Linked DNA regions of Homo sapiens: regions 2 and 3 are each linked to region 1. Evidence: promoter capture Hi-C in 16 types of primary human blood cells and fetal thymus (Javierre and others, 2016). All regions are on one chromosome and are shown on one strand. The core of a region is centred on a gene start or on the middle of the fragment in contact, and the rest is flanking DNA. Distances in the headings are between cores, read along the strand shown.

The links. The method cuts DNA at HindIII sites, captures the fragments that hold promoters and counts their contacts. A CHiCAGO score of 5 or more calls a contact.
Region 2: a contact is called between the fragment with the promoter of RBM43 here and the fragment with the promoter of STAM2 in region 1, in 1 of 17 cell types (non-activated CD4 T cells). The highest score is 5.2, in non-activated CD4 T cells.
Region 3: a fragment that was not itself captured here is called in contact with the fragment with the promoter of STAM2 in region 1 in 8 of 17 cell types (non-activated CD4 T cells, total CD4 T cells, neutrophils and 5 more); the score reaches 9.3 in non-activated CD4 T cells.

Annotation. Positions count from the first base shown.
Region 1 is chr2:152,173,360-152,177,535 of GRCh38, reverse strand. STAM2 (signal transducing adaptor molecule 2) reads left to right here and starts at 1,773. Exons shown (of 14, transcript NM_005843.6): 1 at 1,773-1,933. The coding sequence starts at 1,894. It overlaps LOC105373689 (a long non-coding RNA gene), which reads right to left and starts at 2,003. Exons shown (of 3, transcript XR_923477.3): 1 at 979-2,003. RefSeq lists enhancers at 1,416-1,835, 1,312-1,835, 1,996-2,135, 2,186-2,235. The HindIII fragment of the contact is 5,938 bases long and covers 1-4,176 here.
Region 2 is chr2:151,259,901-151,264,076 of GRCh38, reverse strand. It overlaps RBM43 (RNA binding motif protein 43), which reads left to right and starts at 2,214. Exons shown (of 4, transcript NM_198557.3): 1 at 2,214-2,352. The coding sequence starts at 2,350. RefSeq lists an enhancer at 2,131-2,360 and a silencer at 2,401-2,670. The HindIII fragment of the contact is 8,034 bases long and covers 1-4,176 here.
Region 3 is chr2:152,747,147-152,751,322 of GRCh38, reverse strand. All of the region lies in intron 3 of ARL6IP6 (ARF like GTPase 6 interacting protein 6), which reads right to left. Among named protein-coding and RNA genes, the nearest start is that of ARL6IP6, 31 kb to the right of the region's middle. The HindIII fragment of the contact is 978 bases long and covers 1,879-2,856 here.

The DNA of each region.
Region 1 (4,176 bases), core at 524-3,023:
AGTGCCTTAATCAAAATAAAAAATTCCCAGCTTGCCCTTTAAAATTCTTGTCAATCTGTTTCCTCTTATACCTAGTCAGCCTTGTTTTCCATTCCAACACTAAGTCTTAGACAAAAAGTCTTTATCTGTCCAAAAAATCTCTAAGTCTTTTTTTTTTTTCTTTTTTCGAGACAGAGTCTTGCTCTGTTGCCCAGGCTGGAGTGCAGTTGCCTGATCTTGGCTCACTGTAACCTCTGCCTCCTGGGCTCAAGTGATTCTCGTGCCTCAGCCTCCCAAGAAGTTGGCATTACAGGCTTGCGCCACCATGCCTGGCTAATTTTTGTATTTTTAGTAGAGACGGTTTTTCGCCATGTTAGCCAGTCTGGTCTTGAACTCCTGGCCTCAAGCAGTCTGCCCGCCTTGGCCTCCCAAAGTGCTGGGATTACATGCGTGAGCCACCATGCCCGGCCTCCCAATTTATCTTGAACATCCCTAGGTTCAACGTTCTATGAAAAACAGCCCCTTCTGCACGATTCCTTCTCATTTGTGCCCCGAACTTTATAAAATGCAACCACCTTTCTGAATGTGTATGAGCTCTCTATAGCATCAGGTCTTTATACTAGAGTTTGTAAAATGGTTTTGATTAATCTATTATTTAAAATGTTGGAGTAATTCTCAACATTTAAACATCATTGAAAAATTGCAAACTCTAGTAGGACCCACATTTCAATAAATGGCTGCAATTTACCAGTAGTTGACATCTTTAGATACGCACTGTTCAGTTAGAAAGTTACAGCTTCATTCGAAAAGCATTGAGCGTCTATTACTTGGGACACTGTTTTAGACGCTGGGGATATAGTAGTGACCAAAACTTATCAGGGAGTTTATAATCTAATGAGGAGGAGAGACAGGCAACATAATCATTACTACAGTTTTCTAAGAGGAACAGAGAATATGTGGGTGGGAAGGGTGCTTGGGCTTTTGCATTCATTTAAATACCTGGCTGGATGCTGTTGGAATTTGAGTTTATGACTCGTACTACCATCCGAATCGTCATACACCATCATGTACGTTATGCACTGCCCCTATAAAACTCTCAACAAGTCTAAGGCAGGGAGTGTGCCTCCTTCGCCTTTGGATTCCGGGGGCCCAGCAGTGTTTTTATGGAGGGGACACGATGGAAAGCGAAAAGTTAGGCGTAGTTACTTCGACCACCGCTGTCCCGGGTGGTTATTCTGACGGGGTTTGGACTGGGCGCCTGGGAGGGTGCAACACAATAATTGTTGAAGAGCAGTCAGGTCTTTCGCAGAATCTCAAAGCCACCTCCGCGCCGGCAGCTCCGTTTCTAGGGAAACAGGACTGTAACGCGTACGCGTCGTGGGTCCTCGTTCTCTAGCTACGAGTCCTGCCGCTCTGAAACAAACTAAATTCGTGACAAGAACTTGGCCCTCAGAGCCCGTCGTCCAACGCGAAAAACCACGGGTAACCGCGCCCCCTGCCGCGCCGCCGCTGGCACTGCAGCTTCCGGGGTCGTCCAGTTCCAGGCGGGACTACTTCCGGCTCCGAAGGTCCCCGGCTTCGTGGCTAGCCGGGGTCCTAGCGCTGGAAAGGTGGCCGTAGCGGCCGCCTGACCCCTACAAAAGTCTGGGACAGGGGCAGCGACAAAGGCCTTGGGAGGACGCCCATGGTCGGAGGGATCTCGCCCCGGGAGAAAAGTTGGGACAGGAGCGCGGGATCGAAGGGTGGACTCCGAGCCGGCCTGTCAGGCAAGAGCCGGGCAGGTGCGGTGGCGGAAGTGCAGGGACGGAGGCCGAAGCGGAGCGGTCTAGGGAGCCGCGGCCGCGGGTCACCCGGCGGGTAGCAGTTGCTGAGTGTCAGCTAGACAGCAGCGACTAGGGCTCGGGCGCCGGCGAGATGCCTTTGTTCACCGCCAACCCCTTCGAGCAAGACGTGGGTGAGTGCTGTGCCCGGTCCTGGACTGCTGTGTGCCTGGCCCTGGACTGCTGTTTGTCCGGCTAGAAAGTGGGCGGTAGCGACTCCGGGGACTAGGAAGCAAAGCGAAGGGAGGGGAGGGGCGGTGCCGCCCGCTCCTTCGACGTTGGGATTTTTCTGGGGCAACCTCGGCGCGTCGCTAGCGGTCTGGGGAGTGCTTCCTGCCGCCTGAGTTTGGGGACCCTCAAAGGGCCGTTCTCCTTGCCAAGCGTAGGATTTGGGAAGAGCCTAGGGCTCGCTGGAGACTGGACTGATTAAGTAGTTGTGGAGTTGGTGATTAAAAACTTCCTGCTCGTTCGACAGCTGGTTACCTCCGTCTTTGCCCCATCGTTTTCTGAAGATGATGCAGCAGTGGAGACCCTGCTGTCTAGAGAAGCCCAACACTAGACACTTGACACCTAGACAACCGCATTGAATAGGAAGAACTTACTTCCCCATTATTTATATTACTCATGCATTCAATCCCTGATAGGGTAGCTTTAAGATTTATTACAATTGTAAAGGTGTTGCTCTTCATCCCCGGATTGCAAAGATTGCGCGGGTGCTAGGAGATGTTCGGTTTTAGAGTATGAAAAGGAAATCTCCAGTCTCAAAACACTCCAGAACAACAAGTATTTTACATGTTGCAGTCATAAAGCGCTGGTCTCTCAGTGACTATAGAATGAGAAAAACATGGATAAGATATATACGAAATTATTTAGGAAATTTGAGTAACACTAAAACAAACTGAGAAATATATGTATGTATTCTCGAAAGTCTGGGTCTCACTATGTTGCCCAGGTGCGACTAGAATTCCTCCCACCTCAGCCTCCACCTCCGTTTCCCCTTCCCGAGTAGCTGGGACTACAGGTTTGTTTTTTGTTTGTTTTTGTAGCAGTAGTTAACAGAACCCTAGGTAAATTTTTAGAACTTGGAAATGGGGTTGGGGCGGGGAGACTCAGAAGAATACTGCACATCTCAGCAGTAATTCCCCTGTTTCATAGTTAACATTTGGTTATTAGGAGACTGTAGAAAGTGCCCTATTCTGATACGTTGTGTAATCCCCTAAGCCATTTTAAAAAACATGTTTGAGTCAAATAATATATGTAAATAGTTCAAATATGTATGTTCCTTACTTCATTAAACTTTTTTTTTGGTGGATGAATACAGGTGACTGGCGTAAATCTGGGAAACATCACTCTTAAGGCTCACTGTTTCCTTTTGGAACGCCTCATTGCAGTATTCTTTTGTTTGAATCATACAACCTTTGTGCAACCTGTACTTTTAAAAAATTGCTATTATGAACACTTTGATTCTGTTCTAATGAAATAAAACAGAAGGCGCAAAATAGAATTAGACAAATGATTTTAAAACTTAAAAACCGTGAATTCTTTTCTTCAATATAAATTTTTCTTGAAAGTTCATTGTTTTCTGATGGAAAAATTCTCTGGTACAAGTAGGCAGAGTTGCTCTGTCTGTTCTGTTCTAAACCTTTCCCTGCCTGGCTCCCGAGGCCCCAGCATTGGTTTAGTGGATCACAGTTTAGTCCTACAGTTGTAAAGGAGGCACTGCTGTTGAGATTAAAAAAACAAACAAACAAAAAAACTGTGTCTAGATTATTTTATGGCCAGTGCCATAAGCCAGAGCTTCAAGTAGTTACATATTAGCTTAAGCATGACTGAATTCAGAACCCCAAAGGCATTTTAAGGGTGAAAGAATGAATTTGAGGCCCTCCTGTAACTTCTGGACAAGAGAATGGAATTAGAAAAAGTAGAATGAAATACTAAAGAGCTCAAATTGGACTTGCACGTATATCATAGAAGAAAAATTATATATTACGTTTTTAATATCTTAAAACTTTTCATTTCAAATCGTTAATACAAAGCAAGGGTCAGGCGCAGCGGCTCACGCCTGTAATCCCAGCACTTTGGGAGGCCGAGGCGGGTAAATCACTGGAGGTCGGGAGTTTGAGACCAGCCTGACCAACATGGTGAAACCCCGTTTCTACCAAAATACAAAAAATTAGCCAGGCATGGTGGCGCGTGCCTGTAGTCCCTGCTACTGGGGAGGCTGAGGCAGGAGAATCACTTGAACCCGGGAGGCGGAGGTTGCAGTGAGCCAATATCTCGCCACTGCCCTCCAGCCTGGCGACAGAGCAAGACTCCGTCTCGAAAAAAAATATATATATATATGTATACATATATATATATATGTATATATATGTGT
Region 2 (4,176 bases), core at 965-3,464, 910 kb after region 1:
GAGCTTGAGCTCATGGGTAGACAGTGCTGCCAATTCTTGAGAGGGAATTAAGAAGGGGAGAAGAAGGGTTCTCCTTGTTAAATTCAGATGCTTGTTTGACATTCAAGTAGGCACTTAGATATATAAAATCTGGAGATAAAATATAAATTGGGGAATTACATACAGATGTACCTCATTCTGTTTTTTTTTTTTTTTCTTGAGACAGAGTCTTGCTCTGGAGTTCTACTTGTTAAATTTCAGATGCTTGTTTGACATTCAAGTGGGCACTTAGATATATAAATCTGGAGATAAAATATAAATTGGGGAATTACATACAGATCTACCTCATGCTGTTTTTTTTTTTTTTCCTTCTTGAGATAGAGTCTTGTTCTCTCGCCCAGGCTGGAGTGCAGTGGTGTGATCTTGGCTCACTCTGCCTCCCGGGTTCAAGCGATTCTCTAGCCTCAGCCTCCCGAGTAGCTGAGATTACAGGTGTGTGCCACCACGCCCGGCTAATTTTTGTATTTTTAGTACAGACGGGTTTCACCATGTTGCTCAAGCTGGTCTTGAATTCCTGAGCTCAAAATGATCCGCCCACCTTGGCCTCCCAAAGTTCTGGGAATACAGGCGGGAGCCACTTCCCCCTACCTCATTCTGTTTTAAAATCTTCATAGCCTTGTGCCTTACTGATATATCATCAGCCGTATAACAAATAGCTCCATCCAATGATAAACTAGGTGGATCCCAGTTTATAAAAAAATTATTACTACCTGTATTTCAAGCAATGTACAACTAAAATTTCTATACAATATCTTAGTGCCATTTGCGCACTATAACTTCAAGTTCAGTTCTAAAAGTAGAATTGCTGAGACTAAGAATATGTGCATTTTACATTTTTTTGCACTTTACATTTTGATAAAAATCTTTAGAAGTATTTGCATCCATCTATGCTTGCAGCAACTCTGATGCTTACATTCAGGCTAACACTTTCTGGTTTTGCAGATCTAGTTGTGAAAAATGGTATCTTATTATTTCAATTTACATTTCTTAGGAGTGGGATTGGGTTTCTTCATATCTGCTAGCCATCTACCTTTGTTCTTCATGCATTCATTGATTTGATTTTGAAGTTTGTCCAGAGATTCCCTGTGTCCCCACAGGCGCCATTCGGGGTTCCTGTGCTAAGGCATGGACAAGGTGGTGAGCTCTCTGCTGGCAGGGACCTGGCGCTCTCATCCTGTGTCCTTAGCACCCGGCAGAGGTCCAAGAGGGCTCCTGGTCTGGGCTGGGAAGGTGACCAACACGGCGTTGGGGGTTGAGGTGGGGGTTGGGGAACTGGGGTAGGTTGTGCAGAGGAAAAGGCCCAGGTGAGCGGTGGGGGAAGGGGAAGAAGTCTGGACAGATAATAAGGGCGTAGGAAAGACATCCAGATTTCACTGAGTGCAGGGCTTTTTAAAACTGATGTTAGAAAAACTTGATTTGCTGTTGTAAAAAACCATCTGTGTGAAGTAGAAATTGATATCAATAACATGATAGAGAATACGTTCTAAAAAGTAAAGGTAGCTGGATGTAAAATTCTGGCAGAAGTTTAATATCCTAGATGGTTAGTTTGAGGCCAGCAACTAATGAGGATAAAAGCCTTCTCCATGGAAAATTTTGGACAGTTATCTGGAGAAATATTACAGTGCGCATCAACCAAATTGAAATGTTTTCAAAAGTGTTGTAAAGTTTCATGTAGTAAAAAGGTTTTAGCCACATGCCCTTCAATTTCATGGCATCGAATATATAAACACAGAAGAGAGCATGCATGCAAGATATTTAACTCCCTTACATGATAATGCATGCGATTCAAAACTATCATGACATCTAGGGCTCTCTGCAACTACGAGATGATTGATGTTAGGAAAAGCGTAGCCCCCCAGTATCAACACAGGAAGCGGCCACCACCTACTATGTGTTTTCCCTTTTTGCGTTTTTTCTTTTTTTAAATCAACTCTGCCGTTGTTGCTGCTGCTTAGCAAAACGGGTAAAAACAAAATTGCAATCACTGATGCATCACCCAGAGAATTCCCAAATTTCCTGTCGAGGAATCCTCTCGGCCTCTCTCCAGAGTGCTTCCACAAGTTGCAAAACTACGGAGGGCGTCTGGGCAGGCGCTGGCAACAGCACTCCTGAGTCCGAGCTCCCACTCAGAGGCCACGAGGTCGCAGAACAGCCGGATCGGGTGGAAGGACCGCCCTTTTCTTCGTAGCCTCCAAGGGAGCTGGAACAAAAAACGAAACCAAAACCTGCCTGCTCGCTCCTCTCCCCATCGCCTGCGTTCCGCTGGTTGTGGGCTTTCTGCGGCCGCTGAGGGCGCGTCTCCCCTCCGCCATGGCAAGTTGCTTTTGCTTTGGGTTTTGCGGTGCAGGTCCGTGCCTGTACCGTCGCCATGGTCCCCTAGAAGGGCGCGGAACCGGGCGCGACGGGCCAGGGTGCAGGGCTGCGCGGGAGGGGGCGGCGCACGGAGGGGCCCCAGGGACCCCGGGGGCCCCGGAGAGCCGTCCACCCCGGCGGGCAAACTCAGGTCAGCCTCGCTGCACCCTTCCCAGGTGGCGGCATTGCGCGCTCCTGAAATTCACGTACGGCGGTGCAGTATAGGCCCGCTCCAGAGGCTCAGGACTAGGCTGTCACCTCCCACACCCACTGCCCAGGCGACGGGGACGCCGCCGTTCGTCGAGGAGCTGCTTCGCAGGCTGTTAGGGCTTAACTGTTGTCCTCCCACGCCTCGGGGGGAACAAAAGTGGCCTGATTAGCCAGAAATGGAGGTCACAGCTGCCTTTTGAAAAGGGCTAATAAGAACGATTCGAGCCAAGGACGCAAGTCAGGAAGACATCCTCATGTCTTATGTCTGCCTTGGTGCGAATTCTTGTCTTAGCAAATTCAAAATTTATCCTTCTGTGTTTTGTTTTGTTTCCATCAATCGCTTAAAAGCCTTGGCAAGGCCTTTAATTCCTGCTCTGAAATGCTAGAGTCCCGGAAATGCAAAAGCAAGTACGTTTTTGTTGACCTGGTGGCGGTAGAGGCGTCGTCATTGAAAATAAACAACTGATTTTGAGAAAATCAATATAAACAAATGCAGTCAATGAATCTTCTGTTTCTTCCCAATGCCTTACTTACAAAAGTAAAGTTTTGCTATATACTTTTTGCTTTCTGATAAGATGGCCAAGTCTGTTATAACACAATACTGATGCAAGGAAATGCGCCATCACGTTAGTATGTCTTGGCTAAAAGCTGCTCGTTTCAAAGTCCTTGAAAGGACTGTCTTTCTCTAGGCATTTCTTTATCTTAATCGTGGGTAGAAGAGATGAACAACCCTCATTATTCATAATTGACCTCAGTAAAATTATCTATGTTAGCCATACTTTCTCCAACCTATGAAAGGGAGTTAAGGACAAATATTGGCAAGTCATTGAAGTACTAATTCATTAGATGATTCATAGAAACTAGTTCTTACCAAACAAAATTTACATCTTTATGTTTTTTTCTTCTAAAAATACTGGTTCAGGGAGAAGTTTCTTTGATTTTAAAGATAAATTACCAGTAGACATTCGAATAAAGAAATATGGTATTAGTACTAATGAGGGCATAGAGCTGAAGTAAGATTTCCTGAGTTTAAATTGATTGCATGTTTTTCTTTGATATTGTTGGGGTGCAGAAAATGATCTCCCTGCCCGGCACGGTGGCTCACGCCTGTAATCCCAGCACTTTGGGAGGCGAAGGAGGGCGGATCACTTGAGGTCAGGAGTCTCTACTAAAAATACAAAAATTAGCTGGGCGTGATGGCATCCACCTGTAGTCTCAGCTACTGGGGAGGCTGAGGTGGGAGGATCACTTGAGCCCAGGAGGCGGAGGTTGCAGGGAGCCAAGATCACGCCATTGTTCTCCAGCCTGGGCAACAGAGCGAGGCGCTGTCTAAAAAAAAAAAAAGACTTCGAGAGGCCGAGGGGGGAGCGGATCACGAGGTCAGGAGTTTGAGACCAGCCTGGTCAACATGGTGAAACCCCATCTCTACTAAAAATACAAAAATTAGTCGGGCATGGTGGCTGATGCCTGTAGTCCCAGCTACTCAGGAGGCTGGGGCAGGAGAATCGCTTGAACCCGGGAGGTGGAGGTTGCAGTGAGCCAAGATCGCGCCACTGCACTCCAGCGTAGGTGACA
Region 3 (4,176 bases), core at 1,118-3,617, 570 kb before region 1:
TTTTCAGTGATGGATATGCTAATTAGCCTGATTTGATCATTACACATTGTATGGGACTATCATTCATTCTGTATTCCACTAATGAATATGATTATTATGTGTCAACTAAAAATAAAAAAAAAGTCAAACGTGGGAAACTTGATCAGATAAAAATTAAAAAATTTCCATTCAAGTAAAACTACAGCATTATTTATTATTAATACTGCCAAACTTCAAAAGTGGGTAGTAGATAAAACTGCATTACTGAATGAGGTAAAAGAAAAAAACAAGAAAAAAAATCCCACGGTTTCATGGCAACATCATAGAAATGTTTCACTTTGAAGACCTTCCATTTTACTTCAAAATTTACAAGGCTTATATATTTTTGAAAATGGCATGACTATTTGTGGAGATGTTACTACAATTATTATTTGCATATACGAATGTGACAGGTTAAAACAAATTCACAAAGAAATTCTAAGTTGCTGACATTCTCTCCATGTACTTAAATACATTGCACAGATGAATTTTCCTAAAACATTCCTTTGCTTTAAAATGCTTTTGTGTTAACTGGATATAAAATGTAAACGAGCAGAGCACACAATATTATTAACAAGGTTAAGTTTCCTTAATGATACAAGCTTTAACCCAGGTTTTAAAAGGTACAGCAATGGACTGACAGACAAAAGAGGTACATTGTGTAAAGGGAAAGAAAAGAACCAGAAGTGGAACTCCAACTTAAGATTTCATGCTTCTCAGGAGAAAAACTGGACCAGATGAACCTAAGGTCGCTTCTATTTCCTTCCATTTCCTTCCTTCCGCCCTCCCTCCCTTCCTTTCTCTCTCTCTCTCTCTTTTTTTTTTTTTTTGGACAGAGTCTTGCTCTGTCACCTGGTCTGGAGTGCAGTGGTGTGATCTTGGCTCACTGCAACCTCCGCCTTTCAGGTTCAAACGATTCTCATGCCTCAGCCTTCCAAGTAGCTGGGGTCACAAACACACGTGTCACCATGCCCAGCTAATTTTTGTATTTTTAGTAGAGATGGGGTTTCACCATGTTGGCCAGGCTGGTCTGGAACTCCTAACCTCAGGTGATCCACCCAGCACTCCCAAAGTGCTGGGATACAGGCGTGAGCCACTGCGCTCGGTCTCAGTTCTACATTTCTGTAAGTATCCCAGGTAGCAAGAAATAATCCTAAAAAACACCTCAAAAAGATTATGTACAGTTTTTTACCTATTAAAACAGGTTATTGGTCAACATTACCTGTACTTAAAACTAGAACAATGATGCAGAGGATATAAATATTTTAGTCCCAAAGAGTCAATTAAGGAGACCTATCTATGATGAAAATTAATGGATATAATTTAACCTGCTAAATCAACATTGTTAAGATGTGACTCTTCATTTGACCATATGAAAGAATAAGTAGTAAAATAGAGTACCCAATGGCAAAACCAGAACGTTTCTTTAGATCTACTTCCATATCCTGAAAGATAAGCTATATAGAAGGTATGACCTTTTTCTGGTTCTAGAGAATTCCTTTCAATAATAAAAAATTCTACAATGAAGTACTTATGTAGTCCCTGATAGTGGTTAAGAGTTCAAGCTCTATGATTAGATAAACACGGGTCTGAGTGCCAGCCTTGCCTCTTACAAGGGGTATGAAGATGGCAACATTGTTTGACCTCTTTGACCTTCAATTTTCTTCTCCATACAATGGAAACAAAAATAGAATCTACCCTTACAAAGCTGTTGTGAATACCAGGTGTCTGGCACATAGTAAATGATCAATACATCTTAGCTATATAGTAAAGAAACTTAGGTACAGAAGAGATTTTTAAAAATTCTTCTGACCATCTACTTAGATTCTCCCTTCCAAGTAAAACACCTAAACCTAAGCTTGCTTTAAAACCAAAACAAAGAAACAAACAATAGTAGTATAAAAGCAAACCCAAGAAGTAGATGGAAGAAAGAAATGGGAGAATTAAAGGTCTCTCTCGCGTGCGTGCGTGTGTGTGTGTGTGTGTGTGTTTTTGTGTGTGTGTTTCTGCTTGATATTACCCTCTTCCTACATAACGACTTCTTTTATAATTCACTGGAGAACCCAGACTTCCATTATTTATATCTAGACTTTGTTCTGTGAAAATATAATGTCTAGCAATATATTTAGATTACTATTAAATAGTAACTTGCAAAGTGAATATATTATAAAAGAATTATAATTATTTTCATTTTTCAGGAATGGAATACATTTAAAATATAAGATTCAAATGAATTCAATGACTTTGGCAATTTAAGTGACTACATTCTTATATTTTGAAGCATAAATTAAAGCACTGAATAAGCAACTTCCAAAAATTCCAAATAAATTACCTTAAAAAGAAAAAGTTAGAGACAGAATAACAGAACTGAGCAGGTCTCTTGTCATGTTTCAGGTTGTTTATTGTTTTTATGCTAGTTTTGGTTGATCTGAACTGAATCTCTATACTACAATACTAAACACCAGACTCCACTCTGTTAGAATAATTGTTCCATGCCATATTTATTCCTGTATTTTCTTTCCCACACAGGTATTCCCACATGTCAGAGATGCTTTTATGACAGAACTCTTGTAATTTAAAATAATAACTTCATTTCCAGCTGATACTGCTTTAAGCAGAAAGCGCTCTGTGCTTGCCAGAATAAGAAGATATGTTAAAGGCCCATCTTAAGACCCAACTGGCTATTCGTTTCTGTGTCTGATTGGCTCAGAGGGAGAAGGGATGAGCAAGATGGTACTAATCTATTCCCCTTTCACACATCTGAGCTGCCTTTGTTTTCTCATTCTATCCCTAGCCCAGGAATCTCCAATTGCTAAAAGTTTTTAAGCTGTATAAGCTTTGTTTGGAGTTACTATCAGTTAGTTCTTTATCTGGAATCAAAAGATCTTAACACTAAACCTGAAACTTGGAAAACAAAACAAAACAAAAAAACAAGCAACACCGTATTTTATTAACTTAAAAAGCATTTCCTTTTTAGAAACGTAAAACTACATTAACTTTATTATATCCTTTTGTCCTAAAAATTACTTGTTAGAAATTGCTGAAGAGCAGACAAAGTTGATTTCAATGAACTTGACCATTGTTATTTAAGAAATCAGGGTTAGAATTTTAAAGAGAATGCTTCCCTAATTTCACTTCTTTGCTATGTCTCTCCTTAAGGAAAAAATAACACACATGACTTTGCCTCTTACTTTTTACTCTAAAGTTCTTTATAACTTTCTCAATTCCCTTTTCATTCACCAAGATTTACAGAATACTCGGTATCAGGTATTAAATTACATACAGGAGATAGAGAAATTAGTAGGGCTGGATGCGGTGACTCATGCCAGTAATCCCAACACTTTGGAAGGCTGAGGCAGGAGGATGGCTTGAGGTCAGGGATTCCAGACCAGCCTGAGCATATAGGGAGACATTGTTTCTACAAAAAAAATTTTGGCCAGGCATGGTGGCTCACGCCTGCAATCCTAGCACTTTGGGAGGCCAAGGCGGGTGGATCACTTGAAGCCAGGAGTTTGAGACCAGCCTGGCCAACATGGTGAAACCCCATCTCTACTAAAAATACAAAAACTTAGTTGGGTGTGGTGGCCTGTAATCCTAGCTCCTCTGGAGGCTGAGGCAGGAGAATTGCTTGAACCCAGCGGGTGGAGGTTGCAGTGAGCCAAGATCATGCCACTGCACTCCAGCCTGGGTGACAGAGTGAGACTATCTCAAACCAACAAAAAAAGGAAAAAAAAAAAGAGAGAGAAATGAGTAAGGAGTCAGTACTGCCTTCGAAGATAACAGAATCTTGTGACGTAGTAGATTGTTTTGCAGGCAGTATTACTGGAACATAAAGGAGCCATTCAGCTTGTAGAAGGGGAGAAAAAATTCCAAAGAAGAGCTAATACCTGAACTAAAATTGAGTATGAGGGATTTAGTGTTCTAAACACCTAACAGTATGCGCAGAAGCAAGAGACAATGGAGAGAATAGGAAGCTCAATTGTTTAATATGATCAGAATGAAAGACCTGGAAAGCTAGCTCTCTCCTCACTGGAGTTTAGTCATGGCTGTACTAGTCACAGAACTATTTTAACCTACCAGAAAATCTAATTCTCAATCTTTAAAATGAGGATAATAATTCCTTTCATTAGTGTTCTTATTAAAACTAAATGAGATAAT